Regions from separate parts of the Homo sapiens genome. Here all the other regions are linked to region 3. The links are contacts of gene promoters, found by promoter capture Hi-C in blood cells and fetal thymus (Javierre and others, 2016). All regions are on one chromosome and are shown on one strand. Each heading gives the region's core, a stretch centred on a gene start or on the middle of the fragment in contact. The rest is flanking DNA. Distances are from core to core; before and after follow the strand shown.

Evidence for each region. The method cuts DNA at HindIII sites, captures the fragments that hold promoters and counts their contacts. A CHiCAGO score of 5 or more calls a contact.
Region 1: a contact is called between a fragment that was not itself captured here and the fragment with the promoter of STEEP1 in region 3, in 2 of 17 cell types (total CD4 T cells and naive CD8 T cells). The highest score is 6.7, in total CD4 T cells.
Region 2: a fragment that was not itself captured here is called in contact with the fragment with the promoter of STEEP1 in region 3 in 1 of 17 cell types (naive CD8 T cells); the score reaches 5.2 in naive CD8 T cells.

Annotation. Positions count from the first base shown.
Region 1 is chrX:119,835,079-119,839,646 of GRCh38, forward strand. It overlaps UPF3B (UPF3B regulator of nonsense mediated mRNA decay), which reads right to left. Exons shown (of 11, transcript NM_080632.3): 9 at 3,289-3,449; 10 at 2,679-2,973. Among named protein-coding and RNA genes, the nearest start is that of UPF3B, 16 kb to the right of the region's middle. The HindIII fragment of the contact is 5,356 bases long and covers 1-4,568 here.
Region 2 is chrX:119,929,625-119,933,972 of GRCh38, forward strand. It overlaps NKAP (NFKB activating protein), which reads right to left. Exons shown (of 9, transcript NM_024528.4): 6 at 2,483-2,592; 7 at 2,312-2,387; 8 at 392-541. Among named protein-coding and RNA genes, the nearest start is that of NKAP, 12 kb to the right of the region's middle. The HindIII fragment of the contact is 1,644 bases long and covers 596-2,239 here.
Region 3 is chrX:119,563,696-119,568,083 of GRCh38, forward strand. STEEP1 (STING1 ER exit protein 1) reads right to left here and starts at 1,714. Exons shown (of 7, transcript NM_022101.4): 1 at 1,537-1,714. The coding sequence starts at 1,660. The HindIII fragment of the contact is 7,229 bases long and covers 1,219-4,388 here.

The sequences.
Region 1 (4,568 bases), core at 1,421-3,920, 270 kb after region 3:
TATGGGATTTTTAAGAGTCATAGTTATGTATGAATATATGCTCAAGTGAAGTCATTTAAGACCAAAAATGTGAGGGCACGGTAAATGACAACTTGCCTACTTCCTCTCTCCATCTCCAAAGAAAAGCAACCATTTGGTAATTACTATTTTATATGCTTGGGTAAATTTTTTTTTGGAGATAGGGCCTCACCCTGTCACCCAGGCTGAAGAGCAAGTGGGATGATCAAGGCTTATTGCAGCCTCGACATTCCAGACTCAAACGATCCTCCCACCTCAGGTACCTAGTAACTGGGATTATAGGCACGCACTACCACACTGGGCTGTTTTTACATTGTTAGTACAAACAAGCTCTCCCTATGTTGCCCAGGCTGCTTTCCAACTCTTGGGCTTAAGTGATCCTCCTGACTTGGCCTCCCAAATTGTTGGGATTACAGGCATGAGCCATCATGCCAGGCCCTAAGTGCCAGTTTTAAAGGAAGCACAGAAGACAGAGGAACACGTTAAATAACAGCATGGGGATGTAATCTGCCAATTCAGAACAGGAAAAGCCCTACAAGACAAATTGGTTTCTGCAACAAATGGTAGGAAAACAAGAGAAGGGGAAATTGTTTAGATTAAAAGAAAACTTGGCTGGGTGCAGTGGCTCATACCTTTATTCCCAATACTTTGAGGGGATCGGCTGAGCTCAAAAGTTTGAGACCAGCCTGAGCAACATAGGGAGACCTCATCTCTACAAAAAAACTTAAAAATTAGCTGGGCATGGTGATGCATGCCTGTAGTCCCAGCTACTCTGGAGGCTGAGGTAGGGGGATGGCTTAAGCCCAGGAGGTCGAGGCTACAGTGAGCTGAGATTGTACCACGGCACTCCAGCCTGGGTGACATAGCAAGACTCTGTCTCAAAAAATAAACTAAAAACAAAAGAGAACTGAAGAAGACATTTCAAGGAAGCATAATTTGTGGAATTTGTTTAGGTCCTATTAAAAAAAAGACATTAGGCTGGGCACGGTGGCTCATGCCTGTAATCCCAGCACTTTGGGAGGCTGAGGCGGGAGGATCACCTGAGGTCAGGAGTTCGAGACCAGCCTGGCCAACATGGTGAAACCCTGTCTCTACTAAAAATACAAAAATTAGCCGGGCATGGTGGCTTGAGGCTGTAGTCTCAGCTATTCGGGAGGCTGAGGCAGGAGAATCACTTGAACCCGGGAGGTGGAGGTTGTGGTGAGCTGAGATCATGCCACTGCACTCCAGCCTAGATGACAGAGCGAGACTCCATCGCAAAAAATAAATAATTAATTAATTTTAAAAAGACATTAATGAAGCAATTGGGAACATATGAACACTGAATAGACAGGACGTTAAGGAATTATTGTTAGTTTTTTTTGGTGTGAAAATGCTACTAGGGTAATATTAATAGAGTATTTATCTCATATACTGAAGTATTTAAGGAAGAAATTATGTGCAGGGTTTGTTTGAAAATAATCTAGTAGGGGTAGGGATGAAGTAGAATAGAAAGAAGGTTGGCTATGAACTGCTGGGTGATGGGTACAGTACATGGAGTTCATCATACTATTCGATTTTTTTTTTTTTTTTGAGACAGAGTCTCGCTCTGTTGCCCGTGCTGGAGTGCAGTGACGCGATCTCGGCTCACTGCAAGCTCCGCCTCCCAGGTTCACGCCATTTTCCTGCCTCAGCCTCCCGAGTAGCTGGGACTACAGGCGCCCGCCACCACGCCTGGCTAATTTTTTGTATTTTTAGTAGAGATGGGGTTTCACCATGTTAGCCAGGATGGTCTTGATCTCCTGACCTCGTGATCCACCCGTCTTGGCCTCCCAAAGTGCTGGGATTACAGGCGTGAGCCACCGCGCCCGGCCAGTTTTTTTTTTGAGACTGAGTCTCGCTCTGTTGCCCAGGCTAGAATACAATGGCGTGATCTCGGCTCACCTCAACCTCCACCTCCCAGGTTCAAGTGATTCTTCTGCCTCAGCCTCCCGAGTAGCTGAGATTACAGGTGTGCGCCACCACATCCAGCCGATTTTTTGTATTTTTAGTAGAGACGGGGTTTCACCATGTTGGCCAGGCTGGTCTAGAACTCCTAGGCTCTAGCAATCCACCCACCTCAGCCTCCCAAAGTGCTAGGATTACAGGTGTGAGCCACTGCACCTGGCCCATCATACTATTCTCTATTCTACTTTTGTGTATGTTTACAATTTCTATAGTAAGTTAATAAAAGCCCAGCCAAGACTGAAATAAAAGTTGGTCAGGCGTGGTGGCTCACGCCTGTAATCCCAGCACTTTGGGAGGCTGAGGCAGGTGGATCACGAGGTCAGGAGATCAAGACCATCCTGGCTAACACGGTGAAACCCTGTCTCTACTAAAAATACAAAAAAATAAGTCAGGCGTGGTGGTGGGCGCCTGTAGTCCCAGCTACTTGGGAGGCTGAAGCAGAAGAATGGCGTGAACCCAGGAGGCGGAGCTTGCAGTGAGCCGAGATTGTGCCACTGCACTCCAGCCTGGGCAACATAGTCAGACTCTGTCTCAAAAAAAAAAAAAAAAAAAAGTTGCAGATGATTAAAGTTCCCCTTTAAAAATTCTATAATAACAGTGCCCTTTACACTTTCTTTACACTTGCAGGAAAAGGGAAAAAAACCCTCATAAACAAGTTTAATGACAAGCAGCACCTTGTTTCTTATTCGATCTCTCTTGACCACTTCTTCTTTCTTTTCAGTTTTTTCTGAGCTGCCTATTGATTCTGTACTTTCAGCCTTCTTTCCTTTATCCCGAAGTGTGTCTTTCTCTTTTTTCATTTCTTCTTCTTTTCTCTTAAAAGTCTTCTCTTTCTCATAGCGCTCCTTCTGCCTACGGCGCTCTTCTTCTTGCCGCTTCAGCCTCTCTCTTTCTCGAAGTATGCGCTCCTGATCTCGTTCATATTCCCGTTCCCTCTCCCTATAGTCTCTGCCGCTCTCATCTTCAGGTCTGCATGAAAAACAAATCTGAGACAGAACCCTGAAAGATCTTGTAATCACAAATGCAGGAACACTGTGATTCTGATTTGGCCCCTGCAATGAGGTTGCACTTTTAGAGCAGAGTGAAAAATACTAGTGTTTTAAGAAGGAACAAAACCCCAAAACCATTCACCCAGATTAAGATACAAGAATATTCTGAAACTGTTCCTCCTCATCCCCCTGCCCTGCATAAAACAGCTTATCTTAATTCAGGTACATGTCCAGGACATAGCAGCAAAACTAGCATGTATAAATCAAACATAACAAAGAGTCCTTGACTACTGACCTCTTTGGTTTTTCATCTTTAAGTTCGCTATCAGAACGCTTGGGCAATGTACAACTTTGCCCACTGGCTCTTTCATCACTGAGATTCTCTTTGTCCAATTTCTTGGCTTTTTCTCTTTTGTCCAATTCTTTTTCATCTCCTTTTTCTGGCTTCTTGAGCAGCTTTAAAGATAAAATGTTTATTTTTATTTTGAAGGCTGGGACACTATCTTCTATTAAAAACCCAGTATACCAAATATTTAAAATTTAGACTAGACAAAGCCCCCTATCTCTGCAGGTACACTTAATCTTTCAGGTGAACAACTAGTGCATAAGAGTAGTAATTTACTAAAAGGATGCTATTAATGTTAAAGTGTTATCCACTTGAACGAAGTGGTTTAATCACTTTGTGGCAATAGGATCAAGACTCCTTTGGCTTTTATTCTGAGGCAGGGTCTCACTACTCTGTTGCCCATGCTGGAGTGCAGTGGCATGAACATGGCTCACCGCAACCTTGACCTCCTGGGCTTAAGTGGTCCTCCTGCCTCAGCCTCTTGAGTAGCTAGGACAACAGATGCACACCACCACATATGGCTAATTTTTTAATTTTTTTGTAGAGACAAGGTCTCATCATGTCACCCAGGCTGTTCTCAAACTTCTGGGCTCACACCATCCTTCTGCCTCGGCCTCCCACAGTGCTGAGATTACAGGTGTGAGCCACTGTGCCCGGCTTCCTTTGGCTTTAAATGGGTCAACCTTTAAGTGAACCAATGCATACTTCAAAGTATGCTTCTGTAGCAAACCAGCATGTTGATATAACTTAATGGGAAACAGCCCACAAATTTTAAGTGATAGGCAGATCGTTTCTGTTGGGACTGTTTTTATGTAGTACTTGGAATGACAAATACCTTGGTCACCAAAGGAGAGATCCATTGCAGGAATAATTTTGCCTTGAGCCTGAGAATAACATACTTATGATGGTACAATTATCTTGCCATTAGAGATTAATAACAAGAATTATTTGGCATTTGATTTAAAAATCTAAAGGCCTTATACAACCAAATAGTGAAGTTCCATCTCTACTGAGTAGGAACTCTGTATTTAATGCCATATTTACGCATGTTCAAAAATGCCATTGTTTTTTACATTGCTGCTATGAATCTCTCGAGAATACCTCCAAGTGTCGGATAATCAGAGAGATTCTTAGGCAAAATAGAAGAATTTCAAGTCTCAGAGTGAAGGTATCACACAAGGTTCATCTCAGGGTGAAGGCATCATGTAAATTACTAAGCAAAAGGCAAA
Region 2 (4,348 bases), core at 168-2,667, 370 kb after region 3:
TGAAGACAAACTTGTAACCAGGAAACACTGTCTTGTGAAAATATTTTCCTAACTGCCACATTCCTCATGGGGCAGTGATAAATAGCTGAATTTAACTATATCCTCCAGTGGATAAAATATCTGTAAGCAAATACCAACTAGGAAAGGACATTAGGAAGATTGATTCTTTGAAGTCAGAGATATAGCTGAGTTTGAGGCTGAGTTGCATATATACTTGGAATTGCAGAAAACCATGTTATACTAACAACACTAATATCAAACCAATATTTATACTCTACTTTTCATAAGAAACAGTCACTTAATGAAAATCAATTACCAAAATATAATTCTGGTAGTAAAAAAGAAGAAAAAGATCTAATCATGGAAACTGAGCTTAATGCCAACAACATACCTGCTACCACTCATTACATAACCTGAGCATTCAAATGATGCAATTTCTTCACTTGTCAAGCCAATTTCACCTCTTCGTGGGATACGTTTTCCAGCTTTTACATATTCAGCCATAGCTGCACCTTCACCAGGTAACAGAGCATGGCCATAGCTACAAAGTAATTCAGAATTCAGAAAAGGTCCATTAAATCATCTTAATATTAAAAGCTTATAATCTAAAGAGAGCACCAAAAATCCCCACATTTTCTCTCAAACAAGAGTAGGAATAACAGTGCTCAGCAGTAGTGTGCTAGGAAGCTCAATGTGAATTGCTTTATCCTAATTAGTGTATTAAACATTGCATTGCACTATGACCTATACAACTAACCCAGAAATGCAGAAATATTTTGAAAGAAAAGAACTGCTGTGAGTATAGATTCACAGTTTACAATTATGGATTAATTTATCCCTACAGGTATTGTCATTACTGGTTCTGGCTCCAGCTGATTCCCTTTCCCTTTTTCCCTTAAAAAATCCAAAGTATGCCAGGCACAGTGGCTCACGCCTACAATCTGAACACTTTGGGAGGCTGAGGCGGGAGGATCACCTGAGATCAGGAGCTTGAGAGCAGCCTGGCCAACATAGCGAAACCCCGTCTCTACTAAAAATACAAAATTAGCCGGGCATGGTGGTGCATGCTTGTAGTCCCAGCTACTCAGGAGGCTGAGGCAGGAGAATCACTTGAACCTGGGAGGCAGAGGTTGCAGTGAGCCGAGATCGTGTCACTGCACTCCAGCCTGGGCGACAGAGTAAGGCTTTGTCTCAAAAAACAAAACAAAACAAAACAAAAAAAAAAAACAAAGTAGGCTGGGTGCAGTGGCTGACGCCTGTAATCTCAGCATTTTTGGAGGTTGAGGCGGGCAGATCACTTGAGATCAGGAGTTCGAGACCATACTGGCCAACATGGCGAAACCCCAGCTCTACTAAAAATACAAAAATTAGTCCGGGCGTGGCGGCAGGCGCCTGTAATCCTGGCTACTTGGGAGGCTGAGGCAGGAGAATCACTTGAATCTGGGAGGTGGAGGTTGCAGTGAGCCAAGATCATGCCACTGCACTCCAGCCTGGGCAACAGAGTGAAACTCAATCACACCACTGTGCTTCAGCCTGGGAGACAGAGTGAGACTCCATCTCAAAAAAACAAAACAAAACAAACAAAAAAAAAATTCTAGACCAGGTGCGGTGGCTCACGCCTGTAATCCCAGCACTTTGGGAGGCTGAGGCAGGTGGATCATGAGGTCAGGAATTTGAGACCAGCCTGACCAACATGGTAAAACCGTATCTCTACTGAAAATACAAAAAAAAATTAGCTGAGTGTGGTGGCGCGTGCCTGTAATCCCAGTTACTCAGGAGGCTGAGGCAGGAGAATCGCTTGAACCTGGGAGGCAGAGGTTGCAGTGAGCCAAGATCACGCCACTAAACTCCAGCCTGGGCAACAGAGCGAGACTCCGTCTCACAAAAAGAAAAAAAAATTCTGCTGGTAAAAAAAGAAAAAAGAGAAAAAAAGGAATAAAAAATTCTGTGAGGATCAAAGAGAAACAGAAATCACACCTACTTGTGGAGGGGAAGTATTGGGAATCAGCATATGCATCTCCTTTTGAAAAGGGCTTCGAAGGATAGTAAGGATTTTAACAGGAAGAAACTGGCGATAGGGAAGAAAACAGAGGGCAGGGAAAAGAAGGGAAGGCATACTGGATGAAGAAATAAGCTGAACATGGCATAAAAGTTGCAAAGTGCACATTAAGCCCAGGGAATATTTAGTAGTCCAGCTCAGCTGGAACCTGGAGTAGAAATAAGGGAATAGAGTCAGATAAGCTTGGCAAGGTAAGTTAGAACCAGACTTTTTGGTAGGTACTTTAGATATTATAAACACACTGCTGCTTACTTCAAAGGTTTATCATCTTGAGAGGTAAGTGTTTTTGGAGCCTCTGGGCCAATTAAATCTGATGGTTCTTCAGCCTCTGCATGAAAGATATTAAGAAACACATTCACATTCTGACTAATTGGTTACTTTAATGTTTCATCTGTTCTGAGTTAGTCTATCAGAAGAACCTACTTGTTCGATCCTTCCAGGGATTTTCCAGAAACTCTTCTTGGGATTCTTTAGAGCTTGAATCACTGGACTCTTTTCTGCTCTTCTTAGACCTCTTTTTCTTATATTTCTTCCTATAGGGATTTTAATTTGATACAAATTCACTTAATCTTCCTATGTTAGAGGGCATCTTAATTTTTCTTTTCTTTTTAAATTTTGAACTGGTGACTATACATCTTAATTTTTCAAGGCAAAGAAAGGTGACAATAAAATGATCTGAATTCCCAGCTTATTCAAACTTACAAGATAATTTTACTTAAAAAAATCTGCTTCTAACTGAACCTGGGAAACAGAGCAAGACCCCGTCTCTATTAAAAAAAAAAAAAAGTAGCTGGGTGTGATGGCACACATCTGTAGTCTAAGCTATTCAGGAGGCTGAGGCGGGAGGATCACTTGAGCCCAGGAGTTCGAGGCTGCAATGAGCTATGATTAGCCCACTGCACTCCAGTCTGGGCAACAGAGCGAGACACTGCCTCTTAAGAATTTTTTTAAAAAGTATTCTAACTTATTTAACCAAATCATCTTTTGCTATAAAAATTATCACTAAAGGAGGCTGGGTGTAGTGTTTCACCCCTGTAATCCCAGCACATTGGAAGACTGAGGCGGGTGGGTCACTTGAGCCCAGGGGTTAGAAACTAGCCCTGGGCAACATGACGAAACCGTGTCTCTACAAAAAATACAAAAATTAGCCAGGTGTGGTGGCACACGCCTGTAGTCCCAGGTATGGGGAAAGTGGGGGCAGAGGTGGGAGGATGGCTTGATCCTGGAAGGTTGAGGTTGTAGTGAGCTGTGATCGTGCCACTGCATTCCAGCCTGGGTGACAGGGTGAGACACGGTCTCAAAAAAAAAAAAATTCACTAAAGGGAACAATGAAATACAGTTCTGATGTTGTAGAAAGACAACAGAAATAAAACAGCCTAAAAAGTCCCAACAATTTGAACATTATGAATAATTTTATGTGTAATGGATTAAAATATGTCAAATATGTTTAAATCCTTGGGTTAATAATACTTTTTAAAAATCCAATTCATTATTTGAAAAGTCATTAAAACAAAAAAAATCAAGCAATTATCCTGCTCTTACAATATAAACTATATTTCAGGGTATCTAAATAGTTGATGAGGGTAAGTTTCTCTTATAGAATCATTCTGCCTAATAAATGAAGGATAAAGCCAGGATTAGACTATCACCATTTTACAACCCCTAATGAAATAATGGATCGAGATAATGACCATCAATGGCTGTTAATATGACAAAAAGTGACAACCAGACATTATTTGCCTCCTGACAGTAAACAGCACCACTTATGAAGTATTCTTGCCCCAACTCAAATCTGAGCCTTCTCAGGCCTCTAGACCTATTAATCTATTGGAAATACAGAGGACAGAACATGCCAAAGAATACCATAAGAATACGGTCACTGCAATTTAGGGACATTATTTGGATCCTGATTGGAATAAACTACAGAAAAAACTGCTGAGAATAGAGGAATTATTATTAAATGTTTTAGGCACAATAATAGCATTCTGGTTATGGGTTTTTGTTTTTTTTTTAAATATAGAGACAGGATCTCGCTATGTTGCCCAGGCTGGTATTGAACTCCTGGGCTCAAGCGATCCTCCTGCCTGGCCTCCCAAAGTGCTGAGATTACAGATATGTGCCACTGTGCCTGGCCAGTTTTTTGTTTTGTTTTGTTTTAAAGAATGCCTATCTTTGTGAACCCGGGAGGCGGAGCTTGCAGTGAGCCGAGATCGCGCCACTGCACTCCAGCCTGGGCGACAGAGCGAGACTTCATCTCAAAAAAAACAAAACAAAACAAAAAGAATGCCT
Region 3 (4,388 bases), core at 464-2,963:
TGAGACTCCCTCTGTCTCAAAAAGAAAAAGGAATGGAGGTGGTAAGAAGCAGTCAGATCCTGCATACATTTTCACGAAAGCACCTGCAGGATTTCCTGATGGACTGGACAGATGTAAGGTACGTGACAGACAGAAGTCAAGACTGATTCCAGGTTTTGGTCTGAGATACTGGATGAATAGTTGTACTACTGACTGCAATAGGGATGACTATAAGAGGAGCAATTGGAGAGGGGGTGTAGAGGGTCATGAACTCAATTTTCAGCACGATATATTTGAGAGGCCCATTAGACATTCAAGTGGAGATGTTGAATAGGCAATTGGAGTCTCAGGAGAGGTGCAGGTTAAAGATGAACATCTGGGAGTTACCAGCATGTCAGTTGTATTTAAAGCTTGGGAATGAATGAGATCACCTAGGGGGTGGGTACAGAGTGAGAACAGGTGAGAGTACTGAGCTATAGGGCCTTGGAATGCCTAAAAGTCTGAGAGAGAAAAGGGAGCCAGACAAGGGGAAAAATCTAAGGCTGGGCGCGGTGGCTCACGCCTGTAATCCCAGCACCTTGGGAGGCCGAGGCGGGTGGATCACGAGGTCAGGAGTTCGAGACCAGCCTGGCCAACGTAGTGAAACCCCCGTCTCTACTAAAAACACAAAAATTAGCCGGGCATGGTGGCGGGCGCCTGTAATCCCAGCTACTCGGGAGGCTGAGGCAGGAGAATCACTTGAATCCGGGAGGCAGAGCTTGCAGTGAGCCGAGATTGCACCACTGCACTCCAGCCTGGGCAGCAGAGTGAGACTCCATCTGAAAAAAAAGGGGGGGGGGAAATACGAGGTAGGAGGAAAATCAAGTGAGTATGGAGTCTTGGAAGCAAATAAAAAACATGTTGCAAAAGGAATGAAATGATTACCTCTGTCAAATGCCACTGACAGAATTAAAATGAACATTGATAACTGACCACTAGAACTGTTAACATGGAGCCAAATACGGTTAAGATGATGAGGTGGGAAGGAAAGCCTACCTGAAGTGAGGTCAGGAGAGAATTAGAAGTCAGGATGCAGAGACAGCCAATATAGGCAACTCTTTTGAGAAGCTTTGCTATAAAAGAAGCAACGAAATGGGGTTATAGCTGGAGGGGAATACAGGATCGAGGGAGGGTTTTATTTTCGTTTGCTGTGAGGTAAGAGCAACTGCAGCATCTTGGTATCCAGCAGAAAAGTTATAAAGCTTCTAGAGGCAGTAGTTTTTGAAGACAGTGGATTAAGAGGGAAATACAATATGTTTGTGTTTCTATTTTTGTTCTCCTGAAGGAGTTTAGTTTTGAGGAAGGTCTGGATACAGAGTCACAAGGCTAAACAAAAAGCAGGAAAAAAAAAAATGCCCTGGAGTGGGGCGGGGATGCGTAGGGAGGATTTAGTCGGAGAGAGAAAACCCACCAATCTTCGTTGAGAAGTGGCTCCCAGATCACAGCCAGAGGAAATTCGCCTTCAAGAACCCGAAGTCTGGCTCCTTGCAGACGCCCCCGCAGTTCCCGGCTACTCACCCAGCACTAGGACCATCTGGCCGCACAAACAGTAGTAAACATGGAGGGGCTTCTCGCCGTCGTCATATTCCTCCCGGTCCCGAGTGTCAGAGCAGACTACTGACCGAGACACTACTTTCGGCATGATTCCCAAGAGCAATCTGAAAACTCTACGCCAAGAAGAGGGTCGCCCCGAAATGACGTCACGAGTGCGCCTTGCACCTTTTCCTTGTGGCTACGCTGGTCACGTGTTAGCAGAAGTCTTATAAACTTCCGGGCTGTCCTATCAGGCTAAGATATACGGGGGTGCGCCTGGAGCCTCCCAGAACCTACTTTGTCTTGGCCAAGTTAGCTGGGACTCCTGTGATCTGGGAGTCACTTCTCAATGAAGATTGGTGGGCTTTCTCACAACACCCTTAATATTATATAAATTCTTTACATTTCTATAACGCATGCATTTATATGTATATATACACATATGTATATATAAGACCAGCTAAATAAAGGACTATGCATTATATAGTTTATATTATATATATATATATATATATATGATACTGATTTGGGTGTGTTTCTAAATATGATTGTGATTTTAATGACTATTCCAGATGAGTACATAATTTTTTAGGTATCTTATTTTTTAGTTGATATAATTCACGTAACATAAAATTCACCCTTTTAAAATGTGTAATTGGGTGTTTTTTAGTGTATTCACAAAGTTGTGTAACCATCACCACTAATTCCAGAACATTTCCATCATCTCAAAAAGAAATCTTATACCCATTAGTAGTCACCACGACCCGCACATCCCCCACCTTCCCAGCCCACGGCAACCACTAATCTACTTTTTATCTCTATGGATTTGCCTATTCTGGACATTTCATATAAATGGAATCCTACAATATGTGGCCATTTGTCTGGCTTCTTTCATTTACCATAATGTTTTCAAGGTTCATCCATGTTACAGTACTTCTTTCCTTTTTATGGTTGAATAATATTTCATCATATGGATATATCACATTTTGTTCATTCATCAATTGGCAGACAACGGGGATGTTTTCACTTTTTGGTTATTATATAGATAATGCTGCTATGAACATTCATGTACAAGAATACTTCCACCGCAAATTTGTGTGGGAATATAAATCTGGATTTTTAACTTTTGACAGCACGAGAAGTGATTAAAGCACCTTGACACTGTTTGTGATTCAAACAATGTGGGATGTCATTGAATGACTTTACTGCAGTACAGGTTTCAGGTATAAACACTGTTTTGCCTTGTAATTTTAGGTTAAATTCATTAAGGAACATTACTAAGTCTATGGCAAAAGCCATTTTTTAAAACTATTCATGTTCAATAATAGTGGTCAAGGGTGGGGTTCTTCTCATTTAGAAAATTTTCTAAAATTTTGAATTCAAATTCAAATTCAAATTTTCTAAAATCTTGAACTCCTGACCTCGTGATCCACCCACCTTGGTCTCCCAAAGTGCTGGGATTACAGGTGTGAGCCACCGCGCCCAGCTGAACTTCACTGTTGACACTACTGTCAAGAATAACACAAGACAGATTCAAGTTTGTTTGTTTGTTTGTTGCAAAGTACCTGCTGTTTAATAATACAATTAATAACTACAGGATTTTAAACAACTTACATTTTGACAAGTATTGTACATTTGTCTAAACCTTTTCTGCTCCATACATATTTGTAATACATCTTAGCAAATTATGCTTTAGACTGAATTGAATTAGTGTTTTCCTGACTTCTTTGAAATACTCTCATCTGCAGTTGTTCCACACAAGACCATACACCCAGGCCAATTTTTTTTTTTTTTTTTTTTTTTGAGACAGAGTCTGGCTCTGTCACCCAGGCTGGCTGGAGTGCAGTGGCACAATCTTGGCTCACTGCAACCTCCACCGCCCAGGTTCAATCAACTCTCCTGCCTCAGCCTCCTGAGTAACTGGGATTACAGGCACATGCCACCATGCCTGGCTAATTTTTTTTTTTTTTTTTTTTTTTGTATTTTTAGTAGAGGCAGGGTTTCACCATGTTGGTCAGGCTGATCTCAAACTCCTCACCTCAAGTGATCTGCCCACATCGGCCTCCCAAAGTGCTGAGATTACAGGCGTGAGCCACCACGCCCGGTCCAATTCTTCAGTCACTTTAAAGTCAACATTGACTCCTTGAGTAAAAAACAACAACTGAGTAATATTGGTAAACATTCATCAGGAGCCAAGGAAAACCACTTGAAATCATTTGCTTTGTTTTTGTTTTTGTTTTTGAGACAGGGTCTTGCTCTGTCACCCAGGCTGGAGTGCAGTGGCATGATCACAGCTCACTGCAGCCTCAAACTCCTGGGCTCAAGTGATCCTCCCACCTTAGCCTCCCTAGTAGCTGGGACCACACATGCACACCACCACATCGGCTATTTTTTTTTTAATTTTTTTGTAGAGACAAGGTCTTGCTGTGTTGCCCAGGGTAGTCTTGAACTGTTGGGCTCAAGCAATCCTTCTGCTGCAGGCTTTCAAAGTGCTGAGATTACAGGTGTGAGCCACCGTGCCTTGCCCTTTTTTGTTTGTTTGTTTTTGTTTTGATGTTGATTTCAATGTCCTCAACTCTTAGAGCCACTGTTCTTGCTGAAAGGTGAATAGTCTTCACAAGTTTTATTTTTCTTGAGCCTATTTCTTTGACTTCTGCAGCCAAACACAATTTAGCTCAGTATCAGTAAATGACTTTCCTTGGTTGGCTAACAAAGGAGCCACTCAGAAACTTACTTTGACTATAGGCTTATTTTTATTTTTTCCTTTTTGGGGGGGGCGGGGGATGGAGTCTCGCTCTCTCGCCCAGGCTGGAGGGCGGTGGCGTGATCTCGGCTCA